Regions from separate parts of the Homo sapiens genome. Here region 1 is linked to region 2. The links are contacts of gene promoters, found by promoter capture Hi-C in blood cells and fetal thymus (Javierre and others, 2016). All regions are on one chromosome and are shown on one strand. The core of a region is centred on a gene start or on the middle of the fragment in contact, and the rest is flanking DNA. Distances in the headings are between cores, read along the strand shown.

Evidence for each region. Contacts are between HindIII fragments. The CHiCAGO score rates a contact against its expected background, and 5 or more counts as called.
Region 1: a contact is called between a fragment that was not itself captured here and the fragment with the promoter of HIPK4 in region 2, in 2 of 17 cell types (M0 macrophages and megakaryocytes). The highest score is 5.4, in M0 macrophages.

What each region holds. Positions count from the first base shown.
Region 1 is chr19:40,136,407-40,142,059 of GRCh38, reverse strand. No RefSeq gene overlaps it. Among named protein-coding and RNA genes, the nearest start is that of ZNF780A, 48 kb to the right of the region's middle. The HindIII fragment of the contact is 1,694 bases long and covers 1,258-2,951 here.
Region 2 is chr19:40,386,522-40,391,749 of GRCh38, reverse strand. HIPK4 (homeodomain interacting protein kinase 4) reads left to right here and starts at 1,569. Exons shown (of 4, transcript NM_144685.5): 1 at 1,569-2,312. The coding sequence starts at 1,848. RefSeq lists enhancers at 1,117-1,666, 1,667-2,216. The HindIII fragment of the contact is 16,517 bases long and covers 1-5,228 here.

The DNA of each region.
Region 1 (5,653 bases), core at 855-3,354, 250 kb after region 2:
GTCAAAGGGCAAATTCACTAGATATTGCCAAATTCTCCTCCATGGAGGTTTTATCTTTTTATATTCCATCAGTAAAATGGAAGAGTCCCTGTTTCCCCACAGCGTTGCCAACAAGAGGGCTGTCCAACATTTGGATTTTTGCTAATCTGTTAGGTGAGAAATAGGATCTCAGGGCAGTTTTAATTGTGTTTCTTTTATTATGAGTGAGGCTGAGCTTTAGTTTATTTTTTATTTTTTGAGACAGGCTCTTGCTTTGCCAGTCAGGCTGGAGTGGAGTGGCACAATCTCGGCTGGCTCATTGCCACCTTCGTCTCCCAGGCTCAAGCGATTCTCCTGCCTCAGCCTCCTGAGTAGCTGGGATTACAGGTGCATGCCACCATGCCTGGCTGCACCATGTTGCCTGGCTGCAACATGGCATGCACCATGCCATGTTGGCCAGGCTGGTCTTGAACTCCTGACCTCAGGTGATCTGCTTGCCTCAGCCTCTCAAAATTCTGGGATTACAGGTGTGATATTTTATTTTTTATTTTTTGAGACAGGGTCTTACTCGGTCACACAGGCTGGAGTGCAGTGGTGCAATCATAGCTCACTGCAGCCTTGAACTCCTGGGCTCCAGCAGTCCTCCCATCCTCCCACCTCAGCATCCCGAGTAGCTGGGATCACAGGTGTGTGCCACCACACTCAGCTAATTTATTTTATTTTATTTAGAGACAAGGTCTTGTCATCTTGCTCAGGCTGGTCTTAAACTCCTGGGATCAATCAATCCCCTCACCTTCCCTTCGAAAGTACTGGGATTACAGGGATGAGCCACTGTGTCTGGCTATTTTTATAAATTTAGGTGGCATTTGCATTTTTTAACGTGAACTCTCTGTTTATGTATCTTGCCCGCTTTCAATAGGTTTCTTGTTTTTTTTCCCTTAATTTTTAGACACTTTATATTTTAGGGATTTTAACTCTTTCTCTTCTGTGATATAAGTGGTAAATATTTTTCTTATTTTGTCATCTGTAGTTTTTGGTTGTGTATGGCTTATTTTGTGGCCACGCAAAAGGTTTTTGTTTTTTTTTTGTTTGGTCATTTAACAAAATTCTCTTTTATGGCTTCTGGATCTTGAGTAATAGTTTGGAAAATTTACACCCTCCCCGGTAATGAGGGAACTCACCAGTGTTTTATTATCTGTGAGGCTGTGTTTTTTCATTTAGATCTTTGATATGTTTAGGATTTAATCTGGTATATGGGGTGGGAAATGCATTCAAGCTTCTTTGTTTTCACGTGGTCATCTAGTTGTTTCTACACTACTAAATTAAAACCTTTTCTAAAGTCCCTTCCTGAATTAGAAATTACTATATCATCATATAAATCTCCATCAGCAATTGCTTCTGTCTTTGGATTTTCTAACCTTCTTTTGATCTGTCTGCTTATTTATGCATCAGTAACACATTTTAAAATATTGTTTTTATTTACTTTTTTTTTTTTAGCCCCAACCATGGCAAGGGCACATATTGTTTTATTTTTATTGTATTATTTTTATTATTTTTAATTTTTCTGATACGGAGTTTTGTTCTTGTCACCCAGGCTGGAGTGCAATGGTGCAAACTCAGCTCACTGCAACCTCTGCCTCCCGGGTTCAAGGGATTCTCCTGCCTCAGCCTCTCGAGTAGCAGGGATTACAGGTGCCCACCACCATGCCCAGTTAATTTTTGTATTTTTAGTAGAGATGGGGTTTCATCATGTTGTCCAGGATGGTCTCAAACTCCTGACCTCAGGTGATCCACCCGCCTCAGCCTCCCAAAGTGCTGGGATTATAGGCATGAGCTACCACGCCTGGCCACTTATATCGTTTTAAGTATTTGGTAGAGCTACTGCCTAAGTTGGTGGCAGCCACGGCTGCTACTGCTTCTTTCTAGCTCTGGGGCAAAAAAAGAAAACACACACACACACACACACACAAACACACACACAAAACCCTTGATGATATCTGTATTGGGATTGCAATAAATTTGTAAACAAACTCAGAGGCAATTGAGTTCATGATGCTGGCAGCCTGCTTCTATCCTTGGAATTCTGGTGCCATCTAGTCGTCATTATGTGCAACAACAACTTTCTGAATTTCAAAAAGAAAATCTGGGAGGTAAAAGCAGTAAACATTTATTGTCTCACACACTTTTTGTGGGTCAAGTATTTGAGAGCAGCTTATCCACATGGTTCTGGTTCGAAGGCACTGGCCTGGGGTTCAGTCATCAGAAGGGTTTAAAGGAACTGGAGAATGCCCTTCCAAGGGGGCTCACTCACACTCCTCTGGGTCCACTTGCTCTAGGGGAAGCTAGGCCACATGATGGGGACTGTGGGGAGGGCCAGATGGTGAGCAAGTTAACGCAGAGAGTGAGGTGGAAGCTGTAATGCTAGATAATTTTAGACTTGCAGAAAAGTGCAGATAGTACAGAGAGGTCCCACATATCTCTCATCCTGCTCCCCCTATTGTTATTAGCATAGCACAATGATCAAAACTAGGAAATTAACATTGGTATCACAGTATCAACTAAACTACCAATCTTATTTGAATGTTAACACTTTTTCTATTGATGTCCTTTTTTTTTCCTTTTTTCTGTTCCAGACTCCCATATTGTGTTCAGTTGTTGTGTCTCTTCTAGACAGGAACATTTCCTCTGTATTTGCTTGTGTTTCATGACTTTGACACTTTGCTTTTTTAAGAGGTAGGGTCTCTTTCTGTCGCCCAGGCTGGAGTGCAGTGGTGCGATCATAGCTCACTGCAACCTTCAACTCCTGGACTCAGAGGATCCTCCTGCCTCAGCCTCTTGAGTAGCTAGGACTACAGCCACATGCCATGGTGCCCGGCTAATTTTTTTTGTCAGGATGGGGTCTCACTGTGTTGCACATGCTGATCTTGAATTATTGGCCTCAAGCAATCCTCCTGCCTCAACCTCTCAAAGCTTTGGGATTATAGGTGTGAGCCACCATGCCCAACTGACTTTGACACTTTTGAATGGTACTGATCAGTTAGTTTATAGGATATTCCTCAATTTGGGCTTGTCTGACATTTTCTCATGACTGGACTAAAGTTATGAGTTTTTGCCAAGAACGCCACAGAAATGATGTTGTGTCCTTCTCAGTGCATGATATCAGGAGGCACCTGATGTCAGTGTATCTTATTGCTGGTGATGCTGACCTTGATCACTTAAATTGCTGTATGCTGCACATCTCCACTGTAAAGTTACTATTTTCCCCTTGGTAATTAAAAACTATCTTGAAGGAGATTTTTTGAGACTATACAAGTCTTTTTCCTTCTCAAACTTTTGCCCACAAATTTTAGCATCCATTGGTGGATCTTGTCTGCAACAGTTATTGCTGTGACATTTGACTAATGGTAATTTTTCATATTCCTTTCTCCTTTTACATTTATAAATTGTAAATCTACTGAAAGATAGAACCATCCCTTCTCCTCATGTATTTATTTTTTTATTTCGATCCATGCAGAAGTGTGATTTATTTATTTATTTATTATTTTTCAGGTGGAGTCTTACTCTGTCACCCAGGCTGGAGTGTAGTGTTGTGATCTCTGCTCACTGCAACCTCTGCCTCCTGGGTTCAAGTGATTCTCATGCCTCAGCCTCCTGAGTAGCTGGGATTACAGGTGTGTGCCACCACACCTGGCTAATTTTTTTTTTTTTTTTTTTTTTTTAGTACAGACAGGGTTTCACCATGTTGGCCAGGCAGGTCTCAAACTCCTGATCTCAAGTGATCCACCCGCTTTGGCCTCCCAAAGTGCTGGGATTACAGGTGTGAGTCACTGCACCCGGCCGAGAAGTGTGGATATTTATTTTATTCTATGGATTAAAACCTGATATTGAGAGACTTACATTTCGACAGTCTGCTGGGTATGAAATGGTATGCCGTTGTGGGTTTTCCCCTTCTCTTTGTGGAGAACAGAGTCTTGCTATGTTGCCCAGGTGGGTCTTGAACTCCTGGGCTCAAGCGATCCTCCCACCTCGGCCTCCCTAAGTGTTGGGATTACTGGTGTGAGCCACCGTACCTGGCCTCATTGTGTGTTAATTAGAATATTCTGAATACTGATGAGTTTGGGCATCTTTGGCCTTTCCTACTGTGGCCTCTATGAAGTGCTTTTAAAAAATCCTGCTCTTGCCTCTCCAGGTCAGGATGTTAGGCTCACTGGACAGAGAAGAGTCTATTTTTTTGGGAAGTTGGCATGAAATACTTTAAGAACCTGTTAATAAGGTAAATGCAACTTCTAGGCTTTGCATAACCGTCTATATGCTGTTGAGGGCTGTTGTTGTTTGAGTTCTCTGGAAGCAGACACTAAGATGCAGTTTGGGGTGCAAGAGACTTATTAGGGGTTGACGCCTGTGGAAGGGAGAGGGGAGCCAGGGTTGAGCAGATGGAGAATTTGAATTAGACGTGGCACAACCTTGGCCATGGTCAACCCTGCAAGAGCTCTGCAGCATAGATAGCTGCTGTGGTCTCAATGTGTCCCCCACAATTCGTGTGTTGGAACCTTAATCTCCAATCCAACAGTGTTGGGAGGTGAGACTTTTGGGGTGTGTTTAGGTCATGAAGGCTCCACCTTCGTGAATGGATTAATGGTATTATAAAAGGGCTTGATGAAGGGAGTTTATCCTTTTTTGCCCTCCGCCTTCTACCAGTGTTACTCCCCTCTGGAGGACACAGTGTTCAAGGCACCATCTTGGAAGCACAGATAAGACCCTCATTAGACACTGAGTCTGCTAGCGCCTTGATCTTGGACTTCTCAGCCTCCAGAACCATGAGAAAATAAATGTCTGTTCTTTGTAAATTACCCAGTCTCAGGTATTCTGTTTTAGCCGTACAAATTTATGAAGAGAATAGCTTATTAGACTTGTTATCTGTTTGGCTCAGATTGCTGGGCCTTATATTCCTTACTGGGGCTTTCCCCGGAGAGGTGTGCATTTGGTCAAGGCAGCTCTCTGCAATTGAGGCTGGTCCTGAAGGACTTGACAGCAGAAAGTTGTCTGCTGACAGCACTCCCAGTGGCTGAAGCAGCAAATCCTGCTTGGAAGAGGGATCTGGACAGGGTATCTCTGTATCCACCGTTAGTCTCAAACTTATATTGGCACTGCAAACCTCTCCTCTGAATTCTGCACTTGAATGTTTAATGGGCTCTCAAATTACTTGTATCCAAAGCTGAGATCCTGATCTTCCGTCCCAAACCTGCTTATCCCGCAGGCTTCCCCGTCTCAGTTAACAGCACCTGCATCTTTCCCTTTGCTTAGGCTGAAATCTTTGGAGTCATCTTTGACAGACTCCTCTCTTTCTTCCGTATGTCATGTCTGATATGTCGGCAAATCCCATTGGCTTTATCTGTGAAGTATTCCACATGCTAACACCTGGGCCAGGACACAGATCACCTCTTCCCTGGGATATTGCAATAGTTTTCTAACTGGACTCTCTGCTTCTATCCCTTCCCTGCGAAGTCATTCTCCTGTCGAAATGCAAATCAGATCCTGTTTCTTCTCTGCTTATTACTGGCAGTGGCTTCACAGTCACTACGAGTAAAACCTTCACAGCCGGCAGCGTGGCTTCTTCTCTCCTCTTTGACCTCTGCCTTGTCCTTACATCTTCTCTCTCTTATAAGGACCCGGT
Region 2 (5,228 bases), core at 320-2,819:
TTCCATAAAATCCCTACTTTGTATGTTGTAAGGATCAGATAAGACTTCTAAAGAACTTCATCCTTGTTTAAATGTTTTGATGTTACATTTTCTTTTACTTTTTTTTTTTTTTTTGAGACGGAGTTTCACTCTTGTTGCCCAGGCTGGAGTGCAATGGCGCAATCTTGGCTCACTGCAACCCCACCTCCCGCGTTCAAGCAGTTCTCATACCTCAGCCTGCCGACCTCAGCCTCTTGAGTAGCTGGGACTACAGGCATGTGCTAACACACCCGGCTAATTTTGTATTTTTAGTAGAGACGGGGTTTCTCCATGTTGGTCAGGCTGGTCTCGAACTCCCGACCTCAGGTGATCCACCTGCCTCAGCCTCCCAAAGTGCTGGGATTACAGGCATGAGCCACCGAGCCCGGCCCGCTGTTAAATATTCTAATCTGGCTGGAGTGGTGGCTCATGTCTACAATCCCAGCACTTTGGAAGGTTGAGGCAGGAGGATCACTTGAGGCCAGGAGGATCACTTGAGACCAGCCTGGACAACATAGTGAGACCCCATTTCTACAAAAAATTAAAAAGATAAATAAAAATGAACACTTTTTTTTTTTTTTTGAGATGGAGTCTCGCTCTGTCACCCAGGCTGGAGTGCAGTGGTGCAATCTCGGCTCACTGCAACCTCCACCTCCCGGGTTCAAGCTATTCTTCTGCCTTAGCCTCCCGAGTAGCTGGGACTACAGGCGCCCTCCACTATGCCTGGCTAATTTTTAGTATTTTTAGTAGAGACAGAGTTTCACCGTGTTAGCCAGGATGGTCTCGATCTCCTGACCTTATGATCTGCCTTCCTTGGCCTCCCAAAGTGCTGGGATTACAGGCGTGACCCACCGCACCCAGCCAAAAATAAATACATTTTCTAATTTGGCCTCAACATCTCCCCCAAGCTGCTTCTTATCCATGTCCATTTCTCGGGGACTGCCCCTTCATCCCAGAGCCCTAGGCCCGTTCTTAGACAGCTCCCGCCTTTCCCTCAAACCGTCGGTCTCACGGCTGCTTCTCCTGGCCTTTTGAGTGTCTCATCCATTGGCCTCGCCCTCTCCTCCCCAACCTCTCCCATCTGTGCCCTGTCCTGGACTCTTTCCCTGGCTTGGGGCTTCCACTCTTACCCGCTCCAACCTATCCCTTTTCATACAGTAACTTTCTGACACTCATATCTGACCCTGCCCTCCCCTGCTCAAAGCCCTTCTGTGGCTCCCCAGTGCCCTCAGAACAGAATCCAAACTCCTTAGCCTGGCATTCAGGGCCTTTTACAACCTCACCCCACAGTAGCCACAGACTGGGACAGGAGTTTTCTGAACACAGACACACACACATCACATCTCCCAAGCTCAAGAAGCCCACCTTTCCTCACTCCTGCCTTATCCCCATTCCTGTATGCCCAAGGCCCACGATTAGACCCCCCTCTGTCAACACTTCACCTGTTTGGTCTTTGCAAGATTCCGCCACTGGGCGGGGGAGGGGGCCCAGCCTGGTACCCCACCCCCACTCCAGCCAGGGCTCAGGTCTCCAACAACAGAACCAGAGCCACTCAACAGCGCTGGAACCCATTCGGTGGGGCCTGGGGCCCCTCATCCCAAGCCAGGAGGGTTTCTGGGGAGGGGTGCAGCCCCTGGCAGACTGACAGTGTGGCCTGGGGGTTTGGGGGTGCCAGGGAAGCAGGGGCCAACCTCATAGGAGGAGACACGAGTGCGGTTCTCTTTCCCCCACTGGGGGGCCTGCTGTGTCAGCAGCCAGGCGGGAGGCCTGGGCGGCAGAGCCAGTGGTACAGGGGCCTGGGCAGGGCGGTGTCTGGCAGCAGCGGCACCATGTCCACCATCCAGTCGGAGACTGACTGCTACGACATCATCGAGGTCTTGGGCAAGGGGACCTTCGGGGAGGTAGCCAAGGGCTGGCGGCGGAGCACGGGCGAGATGGTGGCCATCAAGATCCTCAAGAATGACGCCTACCGCAACCGCATCATCAAGAACGAGCTGAAGCTGCTGCACTGCATGCGAGGCCTAGACCCTGAAGAGGCCCACGTCATCCGCTTCCTTGAGTTCTTCCATGACGCCCTCAAGTTCTACCTGGTCTTTGAGCTGCTGGAGCAAAACCTTTTCGAGTTCCAGAAGGAGAACAACTTCGCGCCCCTCCCCGCCCGCCACATCCGTACAGTCACCCTGCAGGTGCTCACAGCCCTGGCCCGGCTCAAGGAGCTGGCTATCATCCACGCTGATCTCAAGCCTGAGAACATCATGCTGGTGGACCAGACCCGCTGCCCCTTCAGGGTCAAGGTGAGTAGGGGTCGTCTAGGGTGGCTGCGTCCCTAGTTCCTTGTCTTTTTCCCAGCTTCTTCCAGCCCTAGATTTTTTTTTTAATTTTTTAAAATTATTATTATTATTATTTTTGAGACGGAGTTTCATTCTGTTACCCAGGCTTGAGTGCAGTGGCACAATCTCAGCTCACTGCAACTCCGCCTCCTGGGTTCAAGTGATTATCCTGCCTCAGCCTCCCGAGTTGCTGGGATTACAGGGATGCGCCACCACGCCCAGCTAATTTTTTTTTTGTACTTATCAGAGACGGGGTGATGATGGCATGATCTTGGTTCACTGCCTCCGCCTCCCGGGTTCAAGCGATTCTCCTGCCTCAGCCTCCTGAGTAGCTGGGAATACAGGTGCCCGCCACCCATGCCCGGCTAATTTTTGTATTTTTAGTAGAGATGGAGTTTCGCCATGTTGGCCAGGCTGGTCTCAAACTCCTGACCTTGTGATCCACCTGCCTCAGCCTCCCAAAGTGCTGGGATTACAGGCGTGAGCCACCACGCCCAGCCAATTTTTGTGTTTTTTGGTAGAAACAGGATTTCATCATGTTGCCCAGGCTGGTCTCAAAGTCCTGAGTTCAAGCAATCTGCCCACCTTGGCCTCAACAAAGTGCTGGAATTACAAGTGTGAGCCACCATGCCCAGTCCTCTGTCTGCTTTTGAGTTTGATACTGTCTGGATGCTTCTGAACCAGGGGCACCCTGAGGGCAAGGCTGGGGCTGACTTAATCATCGCTGTGTCCCTGACATCTCCCAGCACTGCAGTCATGGAGCCAGTGCTAAATGAATGCTTGCCAGAGACACAGAGACAGAAAAAGGTGGATTATTCTGCCCCAAGAGGTGGAAGGACAGAGACCCAGGGAAGCAGGGACTTCCACAAACACAGCAGGGGACAGACAGGACGGATCCACAGCACCTGGCCGGCATTATCACCCCCACTGTCTCTGTGGAAGGAATGAATTCATTCCACAAACATAGACTAAGTGCCCAGGGTCACTCAGCCTCTTGGGTACTGAAGCCCTGGCACTCTGGGATCAGAATAGCAATTAATAACCATTTCATGATACTGCTTTCTGCAAGTGAAAGGTGAGGGATGGCCAGGTGCGGTGGCTCACGCCTGTAATCCCAGCACTTTGGGAGGCCGAGGCGGGTGGATCACCTGAGGTCAGGAGTTCAAGACCAGCCTGACCAATATGGTGAAACCTCGTCTCTGCTAAAAGTATAAAAATTAGCCGGGTGTGGTGGCGGGCACCTGTAATCCTAGCTACTCCAGAGGCTGAAGCAGATAAATCGCTTAGAACCCGGGAGGCAGAGGTTGCAGTGAGCTGAGATTACGCCACTGCACTCCAGCCTGGGCGACAGAGGAAGTCCCTCTGTCTCAGAAAAAAAAAAAAAAAAACTAAACTAAAATTAGCTAGGCGTGGTGGCACATACCTGGAATCCCAGTTAGTTGGGGGGCAGAGGCAGGAGACTCACTTGAACTTGGGAGGCAGAGGTTTTGCAGTGAGCTGAGATCACGCCACTGCACTCCAGCCTGGGCGACAGAGCTCGACTCTGTCTCAACACAAAACAAAAACAAAAAACTGAGAAATGGCTGAATGAAAAGCAGAAAAACTCAGAGAAGGAAACAGGCTGGCCAGGTGTGGTGGCCCAAGCCTGTAATCCCAGCACTTTGGGAGGCTGAGGCAGGTGGATCACCTGAGGTCAGAAGCTCAAGACCAGCCTGGCCAACATGGTGAAATCCTGTCTCTATTAAAAATACAAAACTTAGCCAGATGTGGTGGGGTGCACCTGTAATCCCAGCTACTTGGGAGGCTGATGCAGGAGAATCGCTTGAACCCATATGGGGGCGGAGGTTGCAGTGAGCCGAGATCATGCCGCTGCACTCCAGCTTGGACAAAAGAGTGAAGCCACCTGAAAAAGAAAAAGAAAAAGAAACAGGCCAAGAGAGAGTCACGGAGATTCAGGGTGAAAATGGCAGACAGCTCCACCAGAGGCATGGGGAGAGACAAAGGCTTTCGGCCATTCGCAATGTTGGTTCCGCAGCTGTTGGCCAAGCACCTGTCATGTGTCAAAGGCCTGTGACGAGTGTGAACAGTGCCTGAAGAGGAAGACAGAAGAGGACCGGGACTTCAGGGAGGTGTCTTCCTAGTGGACGACACAGAGACAGAGATGGAAAGAGAGAGAGAGACACTGAGAGACAAGAGACAGGCAAGTGATGGAGAGGCAGTTGCAAAGAAAGAACGAGAGGTACAAATGGCCAGGCACAGTGGCTCATGCCTAGAATCTCAGGACTTTGGGAGGCCGAGGTGGGAGGATTACTAGAGCCCAGGAGTTCAAGACCAGCCTGGGTAACATGGTGAAAACCCATCTCTACTAAAAATACAAAAATTAGCTGGGCATGGTGGCATGTGACTGTAGTCCCAGCTACTTGGGAGGCTGAGGCAGGAGAATCGCTTGAACGTGGAAGGTGGAGGTTGCCTTGAGCCGAGATTGCGCCACTGCATTCCAGCCTGGGTGACAGGGTGAGCCACTGTCTCAAATGAGAGACAGAGAGAGAGAGATACAAGCAAGAGATGGAAAGAGAATGAAGGAACTCAAAGCCCATACATACATTCATTCATTCACTCATTATTTACTGAGCCCCTGCTGTGTGCCAAGCCCTGTTCTAGGCATCTAGGGATACAGTATTGAACAAAATGGATAAATTCTTTGCCCTCGTGGGACTGACATCCTCGCTGGGGAGAGAAATGCTGAGAGAGGCCAGGTGCAGGGCCTCATGCCTATAATCCCAGCATGTTGGGAGGCTGAGGCAGGAGGATCACTTGAGCCCAGGAGCCATCCTGGGCAACATAGTGAGACCCATCTCTATCTCTACAAAAAGTTAAAAA